Regions from separate parts of the Homo sapiens genome. Here region 1 is linked to region 2. Evidence: promoter capture Hi-C in human tissues and cell types (Jung and others, 2019). All regions are on one chromosome and are shown on one strand. The core of a region is centred on a gene start or on the middle of the fragment in contact, and the rest is flanking DNA. Distances in the headings are between cores, read along the strand shown.

Region 1 (7,079 bases), core at 2,408-4,907, 1.0 Mb after region 2:
ACTTGTCTTTAATAAGGACATTGGTATTTATAGTAAAAAAAATTACAGAATTATTTTTAAAAATTATTAAATAGCACAGGGCACTATTTTTACCAAATAAATTTGCATGTACCTATTAATCAAAAAATTCTGTATGCATTCTTACAGATTCTAAAGTCATTACAGAATCCTGCTATTTAAGCAGGGTAGTGCCTAATTAGATTGGCAGAGCCAATTCGGCACCCATGTCAAAAAATATTACACGATAAAATCCTGTTTCCCCAAAGATGTTCTCTTATGATGCTAAAGGCCTAAAAGCTTTGCACCCTAATCTTGGTGCCCATGATGGCTTGATATTTTGCTTGGGAGTGAAGAAATAGCTTTGTTAGGGTCATCTTTATCAGGGAAGTAACTCGATTAAGGTTAAATAGGATGCATCTAATATTTCTCATCTATATTGCATTTTGAGAATGGGAATTAGGGAAAGAGCTTATTCATGGTTTATGAGCATGCAACTGAAACACAGTGATCCCTGGACTTCCTATCCTGGCACTGGCATTTACAAATTATGTACCTTTGGACAAGTTACTTCAACCCTTCTGAGTCTGTTTACTTACCTATACAATAAGGGATAGCTACCTTATATGAGGTAGTTGTGGTTAAACTAAGCTTGACAATGAAAATAATGATAATAATAGCCTTTAAATCACACCGGGCATTGTTCTGAGTAAATGATGGATGGATAGATAGGTAGGTAGGTGGGTAAATGTGTGGATGGATAGATAGATAGATTAGATAGATAGATAGATAGATAGATAGATAGATAGATACAGATAGGTAGGTAGACTCAGTACATATAACATGTATATGAACTCATTTAAGCTTAGCTACTACCCTACAGTTTATTTTCAACACAGAACCATAGTTATCCTTTTAAAATGTAAGTCTAATATATTAGATCAAATTGTAAGTCTAATTATATTTGATCAAAATTCTTTGATGTCTCTCCATTTCTCTTTTGATGTTACCTTGGTTAATATTCTTTAACAAGATGGTCTTCCTTACCTCCTTCAAGCCTTTGCACAGTTGTCACTTTTTCTTTGAGACCCACTCTGATTTTCCGCTTAAAATTTTACCTGCCAATCTCCCAACTCCCCTATCTGCTCCACTTTTTTTATTATTATTATACTTTAAGTTCTAGGGTACATGTGCAGAATGTGCAGGTTTGTTACGTAGTTATACGTGTGCCATGTTGGTTGGCTGCGCCCATTAACTCGTCATTTACATTAGGTATTTCCCCTAATTCTATCCCTCCCCCAGCCCTCTACCCCACAACAGGTGTGTGATGTTCCCCACCCTGTGTCCATGTGTTCTCATTGTTCAACTCCCACCTATGAGTGAGAACATGTGGTATTTGGTTTTATGTCCTCGTGATAGTTTGCTCAGAATGATGGTTTCCAGCTTCATCCATATCCCTGAAAAGGACATGAACTCATCCTTTTTTATGGCTGCATAGTATTCCCTGGTGTATATGTGCCACAGTTTCTTAATCCAGTCTATCATTGCTGGACATTTAGGTTGGTTCCAAGACTTTGCTATTGTGAATAGTGCCACAATAAACATACGTGTGCATATGTCTTTATAGTAGCATCATTTATAATCCTTTGGATGTATACCCAGTAAAGGGATCGCTGGGTCAAATGGTATTTCTAGTTCTAGATCCTTGAGGAATTGCCACACTGTCTTCCACAATGGTTGAACTAATTTACACTCCCACCAACAGTGTAAAAGCGTTCCTATTTCTCCACATCCTCTCCAGCATTTGTTGTTTCCTGACTTTTTAATGACCGCCATTCTAACTGGTGTGAGATGGTATCTCATTGTGGTTTTGATTTGCATTTCTCTGATGACCAGTGATGTTGAGCATTTTTTCATATGTCTGTTGGCTGCATAAACGTCTTCTTTTGAGAAGTCTGTTCATTTCCTTTGTCCACTTTTTGATGGGGTTGTTTTTTTCTTGTAAATTTGTTTAAGTTCTTTGTAGATTCTGGATATTAGCCCTTTGTCAGATGGGTAGATTGCAAAAATTTTCTCCCTTTCTGTAGGTTGCCTGTTCACCATGATGATAGTTTCTTTTGCTGTGCAGAAGCTCTTTAGTTTAATTAGATCCCATTTGTCAATTTTGGCTTTTGTTGCCATTGCTTTTGGTTTTTCAGTCATGAAGTCTTTGCCCATGCCTGTGTCCTGAATGGTATTGCCTAGGTTTTCCACTTTTTCTTTTTTTCACAGCACTGTTTCCAACTTACTATACAATGTATTCATTATTAGTCATCCTTTTCCCCTGCTAGACGGTACACTCCAGAAAGACAACGCTTGATCTTCGTCTACTTTATCCATTCATGTATCCTGAGGCACTAGAACAGTGACTAACACAGGTTAGGTACCAAAAATATCGTTTTTGAAGGAATGAACTCTATGACATATATACTATTATTATCTCCATTTTACAGATGAAGAAACTGAAGCACAATTTAATTCATCACTGGAACTAAGAGTGTAGGAAATGATTATATATAAATGGACATTAGTGTATGATAAAGGAAGAATCTAAACCCTAAGAAAGTAAGGTTTATTCAGTAAATGATAAACTATTAAACCCATAACAAACATACTAGAAATAATCCAAATGAGTGTCTTAAACATCCATATAAGTAGTAAAAAAAAAGCAGAAAAAAATGTGTAATCACATTTTTTAAATTTTGAAATAATTATAGACTCGTTGGAAATTGCAAAAATAGTAGAGTCCAGTGTACTCCTGACTCACCTTCCCCAAATAGAGACATCTTCTATAGGCTAGGGTATAATATCTAAAATTTAAAAATTGGCATTGGTACATCACTGTTTAACTACAGAGCTTACTCAGTTTTTGTTTTTCCTAACCTGCATGTGTATTCACAAAATACAAATCTTATAAAGGACTGGCATATAGAATATAAATATAAAAAACTATAACTCAATAACAAGAAAAAACCACAAACCAAAAAAAAATTGTGTGTCTGTGCAATTGTACCCCATGTATAGGTACAATTTTTGTACCACCACCCAAATCAAGATACAGAACCATTTCATAACCACAAAAGAACTCCTTCATGCTACCTTTTTGTATTCACATGTGTACCTCAACACTCCCTTCCCAGTTCCTGGCCCCTGGCAACTACTAATCTCCATCTCTATAGTTTTACCATTTAGAGAATGCTATATAAGTGTAATCACACAGTATGTAACCTTTTGAGACTGAACATTTGTGTACACGTTTTGGTGTGAACATACATTTTCATTTCTCTGGGTTATATGTCCAAGCATATAATTGCTAGGTCATATGGTAGGTGCATGTTCAGTTTTGTAAGAAACCGCCAAACTGTTGTCCAGAGAAGCTGTACCATTTTATATTGCCACCAGCAATAAATGGGAGAGCAAATTTTTCTGCATCCTCATCAGTATTTGGCATTATCAGTATTTTTCTAATAGGTATGTACTTATAGCTCACTGAAGTTTAATTTGCATTTCCCTAATGGAAAATATGCTGAATAGCTTTTCTTTTTATTTTCTTTTTTTTCTCTCTCTTTTTTCTTGTTTTGAGACAGAGACTTTCTCTGGCGCCCAGGCTGGAGTGCAGTGGAGCAATCTCAGCTCACCGCAACCTCTGCCTCCCAAGTTCAAGTGATTTTCCTACCTCAGCCTCCTGAGTAGCTGGGATTACAGGCATGCGCCACCATGCCCAGCTAATTTTTGTATTTTTAGTAGAGATGAGGTCTCACCATGTCAGCCAGGCTGGTCTCAAACTCCTGACCTCAGGTGATCCACCCACTTCAGCCTCCCAAAGTGTTGGGATTACAGGCGTGAGCCACTGTGTCTGGCCTGAACAGCTTTTCATGTGGCTATTTGCCATCCGTATCTCCTCTTTGGTGAAACATCTGCTCATGTATTTTGATCATTATATAGCCCATTTGTATTTCATTGTGTTCTTTTCACTTAGGATTACTTTGGCTATTCATGATCTTCATCGGTCCCATATGAATGTTAGAATAGTTTCTTCTAGTTCTGTGAAAAATTACATTGGTGATTTGATAGGAATAGCATTGAACCTGTAGTTCGTTTTGGGCAGTATGGTCATTTTAACAATATTGACCCAATATCATTATTCACCCAATCCATGAGCATATGATGTTTTTCCATTTGTTTGTGTCATCTATTGAAAGTCACCGTCAAAATAATTTTAAAAAGCCAAAGACTGGGAGAAAATAGTCACAAAAATACAAATCTTATAAAGGACTGGCATATAGAATATAAATATAAAAAACTACAACTCAATAACAAGAAAAAAACCACAAACCAATTAAAAAATGGACAAAAGATTTGAACTGATACTTTATCAAAGAAGAGATACAAATGGCAAATAAGCACACAAAGAAGATGCTTGACATCATTAGACATTAGGGAAATACAAATTCTAAACATACCACTATACAACTATTAGAATGACTCAAAAAAAATTTTTTGATGGACAATACCAAGTGCAAGTAGGGATTCTGAGCAACTGGAACCCTCATATATTGCTAGTGGGAATGCAAAATTATAGTTTGGCAGTTTGTCATCGTGTTAAACATAGACTTAACATACAATCTAGCAATCTCACTCATAGACATTTATCCAACTGAAATAAAAATATCTACATAAAGACCTATGAGGAAAATTTAGAGCAGCTTTATTCATAATCATGAAATCTGAAAATAGCCCAAATGCCCATAAACTAGTGAATGGAAAAAAATATGGTACACCCATATATGAAATGCTACAAAAGAAACAGACCACATTACATCTTGAAATTCAAAAGCATTATGCTAAGTGAAAGATGCTAGACTCAGAAGGCTATATGTTATAGCTCATTGATATGAAATTCAAGGAAAAGTCAAACTAGAGAGCTAAAAACAGATCAGAGATTGTCAGAGGGTAAAGGGAGTGTGTTTACCACAAAGAGGTACAAGAGGATTTTTTGGAATGATGGAAGTATTCTCATATTCTCTGTTTTGTTTATGGTGGCCATTGTACAACTGAATTTGTTTGTCAAAATTAATTGAACTATACACCAAAAAAAGGTAAATTTTACTTTATGCACATTAAACCTCAATAAACCTGACTTTTAAAAAAAAATGAAAATTAAAAACAGCAATTGAACATTTAGCTTTTTATTTTTCTAGTGTGGTCAGTTTCTGCTGTATTTTCAGCTCCAAAAAAAGCTTGTACTCTGAGGACTAAAGAGCATGAAAATTTCTTTATAGCAAAAAAAAAAAATAGCACAGGTAAATAATTTCCTTATAATGGATTTTTTAATGAACAAACTTTGTGAATCATATTCTTAATCTATAGAACCAACGGATTAATTAAAGTTGAACCATAGCCTGCCTGTAATCACACGTTTATATTTGTGCAGCCTGTTATTAGAAAGAAAAGATGGAGGTGTCATAACGCACAACCTTTAAAACTCCTGCTTCTCCTGGAATGTTGTTTTGGTAGTTGGTTTGGGAATGTGAATGAGTAATGTTTGGACAACTGGGTTACTTATGGTGGGAAGAGTTAAAAGGAGTTGGTATGTAATCGCTACTTGATGCCAAGCCAAAAGAAATATAGAAACTCACGGCAATGTCTCCTCTCACCTAGGTGTATCCTCACCCTTCTACGCTCCATGGTGATCTTCCTGCCAAGATTTTTCTCCAATCAAAAGTCCATCTTCCACTTTCTCTTTGGAAAAAGAATGCGTAACAGTCTCACTACTGCCCATCACCTATTCCCTTTCACTGACATCTCCCCAAGCCCAACTATCATTTTCTGCCTTTAAAAAATAACTGGAATTTATATAAATCAATCCAACGCCTATCATAGACCTTGGTTCACAGTATGCATTAAAATATGTATTGGTTGATCATTCCTTCTGCAGTGTCAAGCACTGTGCCAGGCAACAGTGATTAAAAATAATGAATGAAACCCAGTCCTTGCCTTCAAAGAACTCAGAAGTAGAAATAGATGTACAACTACACAGACATGGTAGAAAGCACTACACAGAAGTAAGCCCAGGTTGCCATGGGAGCTTGACAATGCAATAGTCCTCCCTGTACAATTGAGATGACCTCTAGCAACCTATGCCTTCCAAAATGTCTACAGGTAATCTACATACACATTCAAATTAAACTTTCTATTATTTCACTGTTTTTTCATCTGCCCTGTCAGTAGAGCTGATTACCTTCTGCAAAAATGGGGACAAAGACTAAGATATCACATCTTGGCAGGAACACCATGCTTTACAGTATTTATTTGTGGAAACTGTGTTAAGAGGGGAAAAATGAAATAAGCACACTGGAATTTCCACTCTGTTCTAATTATGGAAAGCCATTTAAACAGTGATAAGACTCTATTGTTCATAAACACTACTTAGAATTATAATTATCTCCATGTGCGGGATACTGTGTTATGCGGTCAGGACATACCAAAGTATGTCAAGAAGTAGTATAGAAGAACAGTGTAACACTGTGTGTGTGCACAGATCTTTGCAATTCTCAATATACTTACACCTCTATGTAGAAATCATCTTCAGAACAACCTGGGGACATATGCAGGGTTCAGAAATATGTAATGATTTCCCCAAGGTCTCATGGATAGCAGCTGGCAGACCTAGGTCTTATATGTGGGATTTCTGATTTCAAGCCTAGAGCTCCTTCCTCTAGAGCAGTGATTACTAGACATTTCTTATTACAGTAAAAACATTTGAGTATGCACCCCCAAGATGTCCATATTTATTTTAAAATTATATAAAATATATGTATGTGTATATATACTATCAGATAGCTCAATGCACAACATGTATTTAGCATAAAGACTGTAGACCCAAATCCTTATTTTAAATAATCTTTTTGAGAACTCCAAATTTTATCAGCTGATTTCTTGTGGAATATAATACCACCATTATGATGATTATTGTATTATATTTTACCCAATAATGTGGCTGGCAAAGAACTCTTAACAGAAGTGGAAGTGTCAGCTGTCCC
Region 2 (7,416 bases), core at 557-3,056:
CTGAGATGGCACCACTGCACTCCAGCCTGGGCGACAGAGTGAGCCTCCAGCTAAAAAACAAAAAGTTTTCCAAGCTCAACACTCATGAGCTGGGCTCCCAGAGTCCCCATCAGGGATGACATCCCCTAAATCCCAACCCCTGCCTCACTCCTAGCAGTCAAGGGCTCAGGGCTGCACTTCTGGCTACTACCCTATATCTGAATTTGCCCACCAAGCAGACAGGTTTTAAGTCTGGACTGTTTCCTTCTCAGTGTTGTTATGAAGGCTTAAGCTCTGCATTAAGTTTCTACAAGTTCCACAGCATCAGGTCATATGGTTTTCCTCAGGGTCAATGTTAATGTGTGCTGAACTGGCTGGAGGACTGCCAGGCCCTGTGAGAAGCCTACGTTCATTCATCCATGTCCTTGGAGTCCTAACATCAGCCTTAGCAAGTAGGTCCTGTTTTTGTCTCCACTTTTCAGATAAGGAAAGTGATGCCTAAAGAGACAAAATTCTCTGTCCATGGTCATAGCCTGGATTTGAACCAGGGTCTTGGGACTCTTGGAGTTTGTAGGCTTACCCCAATATATGCCTGCCTCTAAAGTCATGGCCACTAATTTCCTGTGGGCTGAGTTGTGTGTTTCAGAGGAGGGTCTAAGAAACACTGACTTCTTTCAGTGTGCTGTGGGGTCTGTGTGTAACTGGGACCCTAGATTTACCCCTGAGGCTGGCATACAGCCCTGCCCTGTCCCCGCTAACAAAAGTGGACTTGCTGGGGCAGACCAAAGGCCTGGGTCAGACCAGGAGGCCACCTTACAAACCCCAAGGCTGGCAAAAATGGGCGGCCTGTGCCTCTGGCCTGGTGTACCTAAAATGGAGAGAGATGAGGGTTCCAGGAGAACCAGAGAGGGAGGAATGAAATTCCTCCAAGGAGCCCAGGGTGGCATGTCCGACTGTGTGACACGTAGACAGGGCCTCCGCAGGGAGCCACGCGCTACCCCCAGGTCCAGCCGGCTGTCTTCTTATAATACCCACCAGCCTTTTTCCCTGCCCACCAGCCGCTGAAAACTCCCACCCCCTCCAAAAAAAAGTTCTATTCCCTCTTCTCTGACCACAAAGGCACTGAAAACAGTGGAACCAGAAGGGGAGTCAGGGTGGGTGGAAAGGTACGGGGTCCAGGCTGATAGACCATCCCAGGGTTCTTAAGCAGCAGGGACCACCCCCTTCCCCCCAACACTGTAGATCAGAACACCCCTCTCCATCAGGTCATTACATACAGCCCTGGTAACTACACAAGGCAGTTCACCTTGATTATCGAGTCCTTTCCGGGATGTGGAGAGCTTGTGAGAAAGAAATGGGATCCTTTGAGAAGTGAGGGTTTGGAAGTGGGGGCAGGAGGGTATCTTTGGGGAGATGGGTGTCTGGGAGGCCCCAGGGGTGCTGTCTAGGGTTAGAGTATTGGGATGCAGAGCTTAAAAGAGGCAACAAGGAAACAGGACCCCGGGTTCAGGGGACGGAGTGGTGAATCCGGGGGCGCCCAACCGGGGTTACCTTGAATCAAACTTCTTGCCATCTTCAAAAGTGCCGTTGTAGTGGTAGCGCACAAAATCCCCCATCTGCACTTCCCGGGGACAGGCCCTGGGGATGTGGTACCTCTCGATGACCACATCTTCCAGGGGGCCCCCGGCCGGGCTGGCGCGGCCCAGCCCCCTCCCCACGGCCTGCACCACCAGTAGCAGCAACTGCAGCAGGGGGAGCCGGAGGAGGCTGTGGCTGGGGGGGCCCGCGGGGAACATGGTGCCTGGAGTTGGGACCGCCGGCAGTGAGGGCGAGCGAGGGAGTCGCCACCAACCTCCTTCCCCCCGCCTCCCAGAACTGGCTCCCCCTCTTCCTGTCCTCTTTCCCTACCCCCGCCCTGGCTGGTCCACGTGGAATGGGGGCTGGGAAGACTGAGCTGGCCTGGCCGGGAGGAGCGGGGGAGGGGGTTGCAATAGGAGGAGGGGGCCAGGCTGAGTGTGTTAGAGTCTGAGGGAGGCACTACAAAGAACTCTAGGTTCCCCCTCCCCCCATCTCCATCCCTGGCTGCGAGACCTGGGGCCTGGCCAGGGAGAGAGGCTCGGGAAAGATGAGAACTCTGAGTGGACACCAAAGGAAAAAAAAAAAAAAAAGTTCAATGACTTTTTCCGGAGCCCCCGGGTCCTAAAGCCGGGCGGAGATGAACCTTGCTTCTTTCGCGGGCACTTCGAATTCTAGTCCCCTCCAGGTGGGTGGTGAAGCCGCGGAGTGTGAGAGGCATCTCCGTGCTCATCCGTGACCCCAGCTGTACTCCAAGGGAAGGCATCTCCAGGGAAGAGCAGCTTGGTCCCGCAAAAGCTGGACTGAAAGAAGGACTTTGTGACTTGGGATGTGACGGGCACGGAGATGGAGTGGGGGGTGGTGGCAGCGCAAGGTGTGCAGGTGACAGCAGGTGTGTGCCTCCGACGTGGGCGGGGGAGACACTCGGAGGGTGCAGGAGGGCGCAGCGACGGAAGGCCCGGCTCCAGGGCTTCCTTCTCGTATGGGCAGCGCAGAGGAGGCGGCCCTCACTCAGTGTCCTGATCTCAGGCGGGGGCACTGTTTGCATGGGGAGGGGCTTCCTGGGCTTCCCATCTCTGGCGGGAAGCGCTCCCCGACGCATTCTCTACCTAGGGGACACCCCCAAGGCAGGAGCCCGGGCCGACGGAGAGGACTTAACGACACTATCGGACCCTCTGGGAAAAGAGGGGAGACGTCGTGACCCAGGCCCCGCCCCACCTTGCCGCCTCGTGCCCGGCGCTAAGACCCAGCGGGCGCGCCGCCCGCCCGGGGCCCGGCCCTGTCCCCTTCCGTCCGCGGGGCAGCCAGCTCAGCTCCGGAGAGCCGGCGGCGCGGCGGGCATGGCTCGGGTGGCGTGGGGGCTGCTGTGGTTGCTGCTGGGCAGCGCCGGGGCGCAGTACGAGAAGTACAGCTTCCGGGGCTTCCCGCCCGAGGACCTGATGCCGCTGGCCGCGGCGTACGGGCACGCTCTGGAGCAGTACGAGGGAGAGAGCTGGCGCGAGAGCGCGCGCTACCTGGAGGCGGCGCTGCGGCTGCACCGGCTCCTGCGCGACAGCGAGGCCTTCTGCCACGCCAACTGCAGCGGCCCCGCGCCCGCGGCCAAGCCCGATCCCGACGGCGGCCGCGCAGACGAGTGGGCCTGCGAGCTGCGGCTCTTCGGCCGCGTCCTGGAGCGAGCCGCCTGCCTGCGGCGCTGCAAGCGGACGCTGCCCGCCTTCCAGGTGCCCTACCCGCCGCGGCAGCTGCTGCGTGACTTCCAGAGCCGCCTGCCCTACCAGTACCTGCACTACGCGCTGTTCAAGGTGGGAGCCCGCCCCCACCCGGGGACCTGTCTCGGGCTGGGCGTCGTGGCTCCCCACAGATCGGTCGAAGGAGCGTTATCTTCACCCAAGGCACGAAGCCCGCCGTGCGCTCGGGGCCGCGAGCTCCGGTCTTGCTGACCCGCTCCCCCACCCCCTACCCCCCGACCAGGCTAACCGGCTGGAGAAGGCGGTGGCGGCGGCCTACACCTTCCTCCAGAGGAACCCGAAGCACGAGCTGACCGCCAAGTATCTCAACTACTATCAGGGGATGCTGGACGTCGCCGACGAGTCCCTCACGGACCTAGAGGCCCAGCCCTACGAGGTGGGGTGGAGGGTCAGGAGGAGGCTTGTAGAGGAGGGCTAGTAGAGGAGGGGAGATGTTGGGGGCGCCCTGACTCCCCCTGCCACGCCCCTTCCAGGCCGTGTTCCTCCGGGCTGTGAAGCTCTACAACAGCGGGGATTTCCGCAGCAGCACGGAGGACATGGAGCGGGCCTTGTCAGAGTACCTGGCAGTCTTTGCCCGGTGCCTGGCCGGCTGTGAAGGGGCCCATGAGCAGGTGGACTTCAAGGACTTCTACCCGGCCATAGCAGGTATCTGCCACCCAGACCACGGTGGGCGGTCCTCTCACCCACAGGGCCCGGTAAGGCAGATGTCCCCTTCATGCACGTGGAGCACTGCGAATGCGGAGGAGCCAGCCGGGAGGAAGGCCTTGTCTGTTGAGAAAGACGCTGGGTGCAGGGGCCCCAGCTGGGAGTGTCCAAGGGGCTGGATCAGTGAGTAGAGGCAGTGACATCCCTAAAGGGTTTGGGAAGCTTGGGTTCATAGGCCTTCCAGGCAGAGGGCAGTGCAGATGCAAAGGTGCAGCGGTGAGAAGTAACCCAGCAGATGTGTGCAGAAAGCAGTTGATAACCAGAAATTACACCTAGTCTTGGGATCTCTAACCCTGGGGTCCCTCGAGCAGGGGCAGAAAGGACTGTACTTGGCCAGGTGTGGTGGCTCACACCTGTAATCTCAGCACTCTGGGAGGCCGAGGCAGGCAGATCACGAGGTCAGGAGTTCAAGACCAGCCTGACCAACATGGTGAAACCCCGTCTCTACTGAAAGTACAAAAATTAGCTGGTCGTGGTGGCGGGCACCTGTAATCCCAGCTACTCGGGAGGCTGAGGCAGGAGAATCGCTTGAACCTGGGAGGCGGAGGTTGCATTGAGCCCAGATCGCGCCACTGCACTCCAGCCTGGTCGACAGGGCGAGACTCTGTCTCAAAAAAAAAAAAAAAAAAAAAAGACTGTCCTTTAGCTTCTCTGTTTGGACTTCTGCCCCATTTCTGGACCTCACCTGCTGCTCTCCCAGAATGCCCTGGCTCCCTCTGGCTTGGGGTGGTGGTTGAGTGGCAGGGGTGGTGAGTCAGCCCAGCCCACAGTCATCTTCCTCACCATCACTTGTCATATAGTATGCCAAGCACTTTACAGACATTCTCTCCTGTGATTGCAACAGCAACACATTTTCTGGACAAGCAGCTTGGCTTAGTAGGCAGAGATTGGATTTAGAGTCTTCTCCACTGGGGGGACGGAGATGTTCATTGCAATGCCAGCCTCTCACTGCTGCCTCCCACCCTCAGATCTCTTTGCAGAGTCCCTGCAGTGCAAGGTGGACTGTGAGGCCAATTTGACCCCCAATGTGGGTGGCTACTTCGTGGACAAGTTCGTGGCCACCATGTACCACTACCTGCAGTTTGCCTACTATAAGTGTGAGCCCCCTGGGTGGGCTGGCTTGGGCAGGGGACGAGGTGATAAGGGAGAGGACTGTATGGGAGCCTCCCAGAGTTGTGGGGAGCTTTCCTTCAGTATTGAGGACCCTGGGTGATAGGAGGAAAGTCTAGGGGTGGTGGGAATATGGGGAAGGCACCCTGGGAGTCTGGGGCAGGTGAGAGGCTTCTGAGTGAGAACAGACAGCAGCCTCAGGGAGAAGAAGAGGGTCTTTTGGGCAAATGACTAGACAACCAACAACTGCAGAGCACTTGACAGTTTATTTTTATTTTTGAAACGGAGTTTCACTCTTGCCCAGGCTAGAGTGCAGGGGCACGATCTCGGCTCACTGCAACCGCTGCCTCCCGGATTCAAGTGATTCTCTTAGCCTCCTGAGTAGCTGGGATTATAGGTGCCTGCCACCACACCCAGCTAGTTTTTGTATTTTTAGTAGAGACGGGGTTTCACCATGTTGGCCAGGCTGGTCTTGAACTCCTGACCTCAGGTGATCCACTGCCTCAGCCTCCCAAAGTGCTGGGATTATAGGCATGAGCCACCATGACCGGCCAACACTTGAGAGTTTATAAGTCACTTTATCTTATGTGGTCCTTTCACCAACACCATGCAGCTGGCATTACTGGACCGATTTTTCAGATGGGGAAACTGAGGCTTATAGGGCAAGGGGCTGTTGGTCTTATGACTAATAAAAAGTGGCACCAGGACTTGTGGCTCTCCTCACTGGAGAGATCCTGGCATCCACTGGGGCTGGAATGGACAGCCTCCAGTGTTCCTGCAGCTCGGAGATGCCAAGATTCAGACAGAGCCAGGAGTCAGAGCAGAGGGGCTGAGAACCCAGGGGCCAGGAGACCCTTCCTGGGTACACATAGCAGAGAGGCTAAGGGCCTCTAATTCACTAGAGCCATCATTCTCCAGCTGTGTGAGCTTGAGCAATTTATCTAACCTCTCTGTGACTCAGATTTCTTGACTGTAAAATGGGGATGACAGTAATAGGTAGGCATGGCTGGGCACAGTGGTTCACACTTGTAATCCCAGCACTTTGGGAGGCCCAGGCAGGCAGATGGCTTGAGCCCAGGAGTTCGAGACCAACCTGGGCAACATGACAAGACCCCGTGTCTACAAAAAATACAAAAAGTTAGCCAGGCATGGTGGCGCGTGCCTGTAGTCCCAGCTACTGGGGAGACTGAGGTGGGAGGATTGCTTGAGCCCAGGAGGCAGAGGCTGTAGTGAGCCGAGATCACACCACTGCACTCCAACCTGGGTGACAGAACAAGACCCTGTCTCAAAACAAACAAAAACATACAAAAAATTAGATGGGTGTGGTGGTGCCTGCTTGTAATCCCAGCTACTCAGGAGGCTGAGGTGAGAGGATCACCTAAGCCTGGGAGATCAAGCTTGAGGTGACCATAATTGCACCACTGCACTCTAGCCAGGGTGATAGAGTGAGACCCTGTTTCAAAAACAATAAAAAGACAATAACAGTGAGGCTTAGATGAGTTAGTCAGGGCCTGGCATAGGGTAAGTGCCCACTACATGCTAGCTGGCATTATGCTTGGGTGGGATAAGGAGCCCATTAGGTATTCTGGGAGGTGGCTGGGTAGCAGGGGTGCTGGACTGAACTGGAAGATGGAGTTGACTCTGAAGGGGAAGTGCCAGAGCAATTCCTCACCCCTGTCCTGCTGCAGTGAATGATGTGCGCCAGGCTGCCCGCAGCGCCGCCAGCTACATGCTCTTCGACCCCAAGGACAGCGTCATGCAGCAGAACCTGGTGTATTACCGGTTCCACCGGGCTCGCTGGGGCCTGGAAGAGGAGGACTTCCAGCCCCGGGAGGTGGGCACTGCTTTCTGGGGCACTTGCTGGATATGCACTTTGTAAAAAATGAACTCCTGGCGGCCGGGCGCGGTGGCTCATGCCTGTAATCCCAGCACTTTGGGAGGCTGAGGCGGGTGGATCACGAGGTCAGGAGATCAGGACCATCCTGGCTAACACGGTGAAACCCCGTCTCTACTGAAAAGAAAAAAAAATTAGCCAGGCATGGTGGTGGACGCCTGTAGTACCAACTACTCGGGAAGCTGAGGCAGGAGAATGGCGTGAACCTGGGAGGCAGAGCTTGCAGTGAGCGGAGATCGCGCCACTGCACTCCAGTCTGGGTGACAGAGCGAGACTCCGTCTCAAAAGAAAAATAAATAAATAAATAATAAAAAATAAACTCCTGGCTTCCATGGAAGGCAGGATGGGAAATGGAAAGAAAGAATATGAGTTGAGGTTAGAGTCCTGGCTTCAGAGCCCAGCCCC

What was found. The method cuts DNA at HindIII sites, captures the fragments that hold promoters and counts their contacts. A contact is called where the count stands out against the background at its distance.
Region 1: a contact is called between a fragment that was not itself captured here and the fragment with the promoter of FKBP10 in region 2, in 1 of the 25 tissues and cell types used here (small bowel).

What each region holds. Positions count from the first base shown.
Region 1 is chr17:40,809,262-40,816,340 of GRCh38, reverse strand. It overlaps LOC105371776 (a long non-coding RNA gene), which reads right to left. Exons shown (of 4, transcript XR_934753.2): 2 at 7,025-7,079; 3 at 5,694-5,778; 4 at 2,213-2,393. Among named protein-coding and RNA genes, the nearest start is that of KRT10-AS1, 6.3 kb to the left of the region's middle. The HindIII fragment of the contact is 6,368 bases long and covers 474-6,841 here.
Region 2 is chr17:41,807,394-41,814,809 of GRCh38, reverse strand. It overlaps FKBP10 (FKBP prolyl isomerase 10), which reads right to left and starts at 1,806. Exons shown (of 10, transcript NM_021939.4): 1 at 1,531-1,806. The coding sequence starts at 1,775. P3H4 (prolyl 3-hydroxylase family member 4 (inactive)) reads left to right here and starts at 2,861. Exons shown (of 8, transcript NM_006455.3): 1 at 2,861-3,356; 2 at 3,526-3,678; 3 at 3,776-3,947; 4 at 4,976-5,104; 5 at 6,806-6,951. The coding sequence starts at 2,895. RefSeq lists enhancers at 1-5, 2,492-2,601 and a silencer at 2,742-3,231. The HindIII fragment of the contact is 16,914 bases long and covers 1-5,342 here.